3 separate regions of the Homo sapiens genome follow, and all the other regions are linked to region 2. Evidence: promoter capture Hi-C in 16 types of primary human blood cells and fetal thymus (Javierre and others, 2016). All regions are on one chromosome and are shown on one strand. The core of a region is centred on a gene start or on the middle of the fragment in contact, and the rest is flanking DNA. Distances in the headings are between cores, read along the strand shown.

What was found. Contacts are between HindIII fragments. The CHiCAGO score rates a contact against its expected background, and 5 or more counts as called.
Region 1: a contact is called between a fragment that was not itself captured here and the fragment with the promoter of ZFR in region 2, in 2 of 17 cell types (total CD4 T cells and naive CD4 T cells). The highest score is 6.7, in total CD4 T cells.
Region 3: a contact is called between a fragment that was not itself captured here and the fragment with the promoter of ZFR in region 2, in 3 of 17 cell types (total CD4 T cells, total CD8 T cells and naive CD8 T cells). The highest score is 6.3, in total CD4 T cells.

What each region holds. Positions count from the first base shown.
Region 1 is chr5:36,244,057-36,246,756 of GRCh38, forward strand. The region is part of intron 1 of LOC124900962 (a long non-coding RNA gene); the gene reads left to right. Among named protein-coding and RNA genes, the nearest start is that of NADK2, 3.5 kb to the left of the region's middle. The HindIII fragment of the contact is 1,662 bases long and covers 543-2,204 here.
Region 2 is chr5:32,443,403-32,446,132 of GRCh38, forward strand. ZFR (zinc finger RNA binding protein) reads right to left here and starts at 1,338. Exons shown (of 20, transcript NM_016107.5): 1 at 1,220-1,338; 2 at 827-926. The coding sequence starts at 1,256. RefSeq lists silencers at 381-720, 951-1,640 and an enhancer at 432-989. The HindIII fragment of the contact is 7,512 bases long and covers 1-2,730 here.
Region 3 is chr5:36,148,427-36,151,126 of GRCh38, forward strand. All of the region lies in intron 1 of LMBRD2 (LMBR1 domain containing 2), which reads right to left. Among named protein-coding and RNA genes, the nearest start is that of MIR580, 1.8 kb to the left of the region's middle. The HindIII fragment of the contact is 2,220 bases long and covers 181-2,400 here.

The DNA of each region.
Region 1 (2,700 bases), core at 124-2,623, 3.8 Mb after region 2:
TCTCCCATCTCTATGTCCCTTTTTGACTTCTTCCTAAACCCATCTCCAAGATGTCTTCTGTCCTCGTCTCCTTGTCTCTTCTTCTCCGTCTTTTTTCCTTCTCTCTCTCTCTCTCTGTCACACACACACGCTCCTGAGTTCATTCAGTGTTGTGTAATGGAAGGATCTTGGTTCAAATCTCAGTTTTATTGTTTATTAGCTTTGTGAAACTTGAACTGGTTGTTTAACCTTCCTGAGACTACTTCTGCATTTATAAAATATAATTGCTACCTTGTAAAATTGTGAATATATGCACAGATGCTTAGCACTGTGCCCATTACACAGTAGACACTTGGCAAATATTAGCCCCTTTCATGACCTCAGCTATTACTGGCATCTTTAGCCCAGATCTTTCTCTTGAATTTCCAATCCTTATCTAGTTTCCTTTTAGATAATGTCTCTTAAATCTTACACATGTAACACACATTCGTGGAGATTAAATTAAATTTGAGTGTCACTGTAGGCCAGGCATCCTGCTAGGTGCTACAGATGAAATGATAAAAAGCTTCCATGCCCTTGAGGAGCCTAAAGTCTATGCAGTGATAGAGTTATACACAGAATGCTGAGAAATTTGGAGGAGCAAGTCTCAAGTCAACCTAACAAGAGTTAGAGAAGGCTTTTTGGGAATGTGAAGAGCTAAGCCTTAAGTAATGAATTCAATATTAGCCATTATCAGCAAGAATGAGAAGGAAATTCCACAGAAGAAACACCATGAACAAATGCATAGAAGCAATGAACTAGCAATTTTGAAATTTTAGAGAATTTAGAGAGAGGCAGGCAACATGGGGAAGTGAGGCTAGAGAGGTAGACAAGGGTAAAGACAATGGAAAATGTTAAATCCATGCTTAGGAACCTGCCTTTTATCCTGCATATATTAGGAGGCAACCAAAAGGAGAAAATGACATGATTAGCTTTGCAAAAATTGTGAATTTTTTTTTTTTTGAGATGGAGTTTCGCTCTGTCGTCCATACTGGAGTGCAGTGGTGCAATCTCAGCTCACTGCAACCTCCGCCTCCCGAGTTCAAGGGATTCTCCTGCCTCAGCCTCCAGAGTAGCTGGGACTACAGGTGCGTGCCACCAGGCCTGGCTAATTTTTTGTATTTTTAGTAGAGACAGGGTTTCACCATCTTAGCCAGAATGGTCTCGATCTCCTGACCTCATGATCCACCCACCTCGGCCTCTCAAAGTGCTGGGATTACAGGTGTGAGCCACTGTGCCCAGGCGTGAGCAGGAATTTTTTAGAAGAAACACAAACAGTGAATAAATACTTGAAAAGATAACCTTATTGGAAATTAGAGAAATACAAATAATGTCATTGTGAAATAATATTTTATATCCACTAGATTGGTAGAAATTAAGAAATCTTGGTAACACTCTGTTAGAAAACTTATCCATATCAAGTCTTGATTAGGCTAAACATTAGCTAATCATTTCAATAATTCTTCCTTCCAGTGCCATAGTTTACAAATATCTTTTTTTTTTTTTTTTCCTGAGACAGGGTCTTACTCTATCCCCTAGGCTGGAGTGCAGTGGCACTGCACCGCATGGCTCACACAGCTGCAACCTCCCAGGCTCAGGCAATCCTCCTACCTCAGCCTCCCAGGTAGCTGGGATTACAGATGCGTGTCACCATGCCCTGCTAATTTTTTTTTTTTTTTGAGATGGAGTCTCGCTCTGTCACCCTGGCTGGAGTGCAGTGGCACCATCTCGACTTACTGCAACCTCCGCCTCCCGGTTTAAGCAATTCTCGCCTCAGCCTCTCGAGTAGCTGGGATTACAGGTGCATGCCACAACGCCTGGCTAATTTTTGTATATTTAGTAGAGACGGGGTTTCACCATCCTGGCCAGGCTGGTCCTGAGAACTCCTGACCTCATGATCCGCCTGCCTCGGCCTCCCAAAGTGCTGGGATTACAGGCGTGAGCCACCACGCCCAGCCACCCTGCTAATTTTTAGAAATTTTTGTAGAAATGGGGTGTTGTGCAATGTTCCCCGGGCTGGTCCTGAACTCCTGGGCTCAGGCAATCCGCCGACCTCACCCTCCCAAACAAAACTGCTGGCATTCATGGATTTTTGAGTTTTAAACTCAGACTCCATCTATGGTGAGGCTGGTGTGCTTTTCTAGTAAATGAGTCTAGCCAACCATGTGATAGCCATATCTCAAGCAAGCTTAACTGTTCTCAACATTTTATGGGGAAAATTATATATCACTGTGGTATTCACAACTTGAAGATTTACAGAGGTTTTAAAATATATCCTTCCCAACCCCCAGAACCCTTCCCACCCCCACTTCATGTTCATTCTGACTCTATGAAAGACATATATACCTCTTTTTATGACATTCAAATACTCTAAGACCTGTATAGCAGGGGTCCACCACCCCCGAGCTGTGGACCAGTATCGGTCCCTGGCCTATTAGGAACCGGGCCACACAGCAGGAGAGGAGCGGCAGGCAAGGGGGTGAAGCTTCATCTGTATTTACAGTTGCTTCCCATAATTTGCGTTACTGCCTGAGCTCTGCCTGCTGTCAGATCAGAGGCAGCATTAGATTCTCATAGGATGCAAACACTACTGTAAACTGCTCATGCAAGGCACCTAGGTTGCACGCTCCGTATGAGACTCTAATGCCTGATGATCTGAGGTGGAACAGCTTCATCCCAAAA
Region 2 (2,730 bases), core at 88-2,587:
CCCTCCCCACCATTCCCCGCAGGGGAAAGACCCCCGCAAGGAGAATGACAGGCCCACCTGGGGCCTAAACTCCATAGCTCAAACAAGGCTGGGCACTCATTTATCAGCACTAGAAACTTCGCACATCTTTTCCAGTCTAAGAACTACACAATTTACAGGTGGTTGGTATGTGAATCTCTCTCCTTGCAGGAAAAACTAAAGGAACCCGATGAACACAGTGACACCCGCAGTTTGTCAGCAGGACTCGCTAGCGATGGAGCGTCTGGGGAAGAAGCCCCACGGCGGAGGAAAAGGTACCCGAGACAACGACACGTTATCTGGGCTCCGGGGGTTGAAGCACCAGGCGACGACGCAGAGAGGCGTCGCACGAGAAGCCAGTGGACCTGCGACACGGCACTCCCCGTGAGGTCCCTTCAGCCACCCTCTCCATCCCCCAAGTGGGAAGAAGATGGGAGGTGGGGGCTGGACGCGCGGAGGCGGGGACTGGGGGGCCTGCCGGGCGGCGGTGGCGGCTCCGCTCGGCGGCCGCAGGAGGCCATTTTAGTTAAGGGGCCGCTGAAGGGCCCTGAGGCCTCCACGTCCCTACACCTCCGCCGTCTCTACCTCCCCCCTACTGGGGGCCGCTCCCCGCCGCGGGCCGGGCCGGGCCGGGCAAGGCGGGGCGGGGCGGGGCGGGGCGGGAGAGGCCGCCGGGCTGGGCCGGGCCAGGCCTGCAGCGGGCCGGGGCTCTGGGATGGCTGGGGACGGGCGCGGGGGCGTCGCATCGACAGGATCCGGACCGAGGGGAGAGCAAGGGGCGAACAGAGAGAAGGCAGGATGCCGTTACCTATATTGGGCCGCAGCCGCCGCCGCCGCCGCCCCGCTGTGGGTGAATCCAAAGTAGTTGCCGGTCGCCATTTTGGCATCTTCCCCCAGCCGGCTGGGCACTGCGGCGGGCACGAAGAGTCGGGTCCCATGGCGGGACAAGAGACACAGAGGAGCCGAGACGCCGAGGGAGGGCAGGGAGAGAAAGAGAGAGGCGCCGTGAGAGCAGCCCTGGCGGGGCCCAGGCCGCGGCCGCGCCGCCTCCCCCTCCCGCCTCGCACTCCCTCACTCACTCGCACGCCCGGGTGGCGGCCGCCGCCTCCTCCCCGGAGCCTGCCCCAACCCCCGCGGCTCCCCGCTGCCCGGGGCCAGGGAGGGGGCCGGGCAGAGGCCTCGCGGGCCACATTAGACTCACCATAGGTGAAAGAAACTACAGGGCATATGGGAATCATGGGCTCGGGCTGCTGCTGCTGAACTCTGAACTCTCACCCGCTGCCTCCCTCCTCTGCCCCGCTCCTCCTCAGCGGAGAACAGACCGCCGCCTCCGACCGCACTGCGCAGGCGCGCCTGTGCTCGGCATCCTGGGAGCTGTAGTCCCCGCCGTCTTCGCGGCTCCCCCGGGCGCGTGCCGGGGCCTCGGCGGTGCGGGCGCGGGGAAGCCCGCGGGGGAAGAGGGGCCTGGCCTTCTCCGAAGTGGTGGTGACGCCGCGCGGCCGCGGGGCGACGGGGGCGTGTGCCAGAAGCGCCTCGCCTGTCCTCTGGGGAGTCGGGGAGCGTGACCAGAGAGAGTGACGTCTGTTCGCCTTTTTCTTTGCTTTCCACTGGCTTCCTTAACTTTTGCATGTGCACTTATTCCCTGCCTCCCTGTCTTCCTCGCTCATTAATTTTTCATTGGAATTCGAGCTGGGCAATTTAGGATTTTTCCTTATTTCCTGCTTTCCCGCAGCTTTTCCCCAACCTCTGAAGTGCGGAGGGAGGGAGAAGGAGAGGAGAGAAATAGAAAAAGGATGGAGAGTGCTTTTCTGTTGGACTAAAAGCACACCCTAAACATCCCTCCCGGACATACCTCTTGCTATACCCTTTCCTCGACCTGCACCCACTCCCTGAGCCATCCGGCGTATATCGGTCACCCAGCAGGGTGTCAGGCAGTGTTGTAGGTGCTGGAGATACGGCAGAGAACAAAACAAAGTCCCTGTTCCCGTGGAGTTTACGTTCTAGGAGCGGGTATATGTCAGCCAACAGCCGGTAGCCAAAACACAGAAATTCTGTCTGATGGTGACTGGAGCTTCAAGCATAAATAAAGCAGAGTAAGGAAAATAAGGGTAAGGGAGGTGCTATTTCATGTAGAGTGTGGTTAGGGAGACCACTTGAAGGAAGGAAGGACAGGCCTGGGAGATGCCTGCAGGAAGAGCAGCAAGTGGAAGGGTCCAGATGAAGGAATGAATGTTCAAGAGCAAGAAGATCAGTCTGGCTGGAGTCAAGTGAGAGGGAGACCAGATCACGTGCCAGATCTTTAGTGGTAAGGACAGAACAGTACTTGCCCCCATGTAAGCATTTCCTCTTTCCCTCTGTTTCCTCGCTTTCTTCCCTTTAGTTTCTCAGTTCGTTTTCAACCATTCTCTTTCCTCTTCCAGTCCCTCTTCTGATCGTCTAGTTTCTCTGGCCTTATGTTTCGTGTCTTCCATCAAGTACATATGTACTGCCTGCATTTCACCTCTTCCTTACCTTCTCCATGCCCATCCCCCAGACTCCCTGCTCCTCATCTCTCCTCATTGTTGGATATGAACATTAAAAGGAAATGCTGGCCGGGCGCGGTGGCTCACGCCTGTAATCCCAACACTTTGGGCGGCCGAGGCGGGTGGATCACGAGGTGAGGTCAGTGGCCAACATGGTGAAACCCCGTCTCAAAAAAAAAGAAAAAAAAAA
Region 3 (2,700 bases), core at 41-2,540, 3.7 Mb after region 2:
AAAAGAACTAAAATTTTACTGAATTCTTAAAGATTTCATACATAGAAATTGCAAGACATTTTGATAGAGAATAATCTGTAAAGTCCTTCCTAATAATAAAATAATTTCAAAAAACGAATAGCTAACATTTAGAATGTGTTCACTAAATTTTAAGCATTGTATTAATACTAGTACCTGCCAAGCTTTATCAAATTAGACCTCACAACCTAGTAAGAAAGGGCTGTTCGTTTCCTTGCTTAACAGAAAAAAAACAGTGCAGAGAGGTTAAGTAACTTGTCCAAGTTAACAGAGCTGGTGAATGGTAAAGCTGGGATTCAAATAGAGGCATCTTTACTACAGAGCCTGGATCATAATTACATGTCTCTTCTCTAATCTAGACATAGTTTCTTAATGCAATTTAAATTGCTTAATGATTTATTTTGTTCAGTCTTCACAGGGAACAAATTAGAAACTTTCTCCCATTTCTTTTAGATATATCAGGACAGAATGCTTAGTCATGTTTAATAAAGAATTTAACGCAAACTTTTTACATTACAGATTATACTACTATTACTTGATTTAAGGGTAATATATGACTGTACTCTACATGGGAAAAGTGGAAAACATAGAGTAAATTAGAATCCGTTTGTTCTTGCCCCAAGCTGCCTATCTTAGAGCATTAAATTACAATGAATTAAAGATCTACTTAGTTCCAAGCACCATTCATTCATTTAGCAAATATTTACTGAACGCCTACTATATGGTGAGCTCTGTTCAAGGGGCTGGAGATAGAAAAATCCAAGCAAAGTCCCTGCCCTTAAAAAGTCTAGTGGGAAGAAACAGGCAATTAAAAAAAATACATTAGGGGGTGATAAGGGTTATGTAAACAGGTAGCTGCCACCACCACAGAGACTATCAGTTCTGGAAATACATTATTCAAGATTAGTTTGGCTACACATAACAGAAAAGTCCAATATAGTACAGACTTATACAATGCAGAATTTATTTCTCGTGTAAGTCTTGAGATAGGTGGTTATGGCAAGTTAGCAGATTATCAGAGGCCCAGGCCCCTTCTATAGTCCACATCCTTAGCAGGTGGCTTTAATCCTTATGTTCCAGGACAGATGCTGGAACTCCAGGAATCCTATCATCATCTAGACAGCAGGATGGAGAAACAAAGAAGGGTGGACCGTCTTCCTTTTAAAGAGATGTAAGAATCGGCTGGGCACGGAGGCTCACGCCTGTAATCTCAGCACTTTAGGAGGCTGAGGTGGGTGGATCATCTGAGGTCGGGAGTTCGAGACCAGCCTGACCAACATGCAGAAACCCCGTCTCCACTAAAAATACAAAATTAGCCAGGCGTGGTGGCGCATGCCTGTAATCCCAGCTACTCAGGAAGGCTGAGGCAGGGGAATTGCTTGAACATGGGAGGTGGAGGTTATGGTGAGCCGAGATTGCGCCATTGCACTCCAGCCTGGGCAATAAGAGTGAAATTTCTTCTCAAAAAATAAAAATAAAATTAATCAGAAAAAATAAGATACATCAGTAGCAATCACAATGCAGTTCTTTATGACCAGATAGCAACCTCTATGTACCTACTAATCTCGTCTTCAATGGACACAATTCCTTACGTTAAAAAGAATCTAATGTACCAATTTAAACTTGCATTTATTATATTAAGGCAATAGTCATGATTAGAAGGAAGGCAAAAAAAAATTATTCCCATATTAGGAAGATGAAGTATGTCTGTTACCGGGGCAAACTATCAAACTGAATTTCAAAACTGACAGGCTCTCCCTGAAGTCCTAGAGAGGATCTTGTGTTCACTAATTCAGATGTTGCAAGTATTCTAGTTCCCAGGTAACTCCTAGTAAAACCAAGACTGAACAAAGATATTTCTCATCTTTAAATTTAGAATCATCTCATCGATTAAACCTTCCTATCTATGAGATCTATATCTGAAGTGGGCTCTCCCAATTATTTTACATCTCAAAACTGTTTATTCTCATTATGGCATCTTAAATATTTTTGTTTATTCTTTCTCCTCCATTAGCTTACAGGCTCTCTCTGTTTTGTTCCCTTTCCTGAAGGAAACTATAATTTTTTGTGTCAAAAATATTTTCTCCTATGAGTTGCAATCTTCAGGGAAAGGACGTAGCTTCAAACAAAGGCAAATGCTTTCTCCTTAGCCAAAGTAACATAAAGGTCACTTTCTGTAAAACATCAGGATATTGCATTTTAAAATGCTTTCCATATAACATTAGTTTGATGAACGGCTTAGCCTAGGATTCTGCACCTAGTTCCAATCAAAACCAAGTTGTGAACAGATCCCTTCTTTACACCAATCTCATCTTTCAAGAACGAGCTAAAGGTTCATGAATTCCTTCCTCAAGAGGCAGTTACTTTTCAAGCTAAGGACCAAGCTTGAAACAAGCATATACCTGCACAAGGGAGGTTTAATTTCACTACAGAGCGAATCATTTTTTCAAGGAAACCAGAGGGTGTGTCATACAGCATCACTGAATATTCTAATATGCGATGAAGCTGTTATGCTTCCTTATGAACTTTATAAATCTTCATTTTTATGAGGCTTAGAATTCATCCCCCTTCCCTCTTCCACTGTTTTCCCGGGGTCACAGTTGTAGTATAGTTTGCCCAATGGATTTCGCATGGTCATTGTACCTGGAATATGTCACGCTCCCTACTCTTACTGCCCCCAAA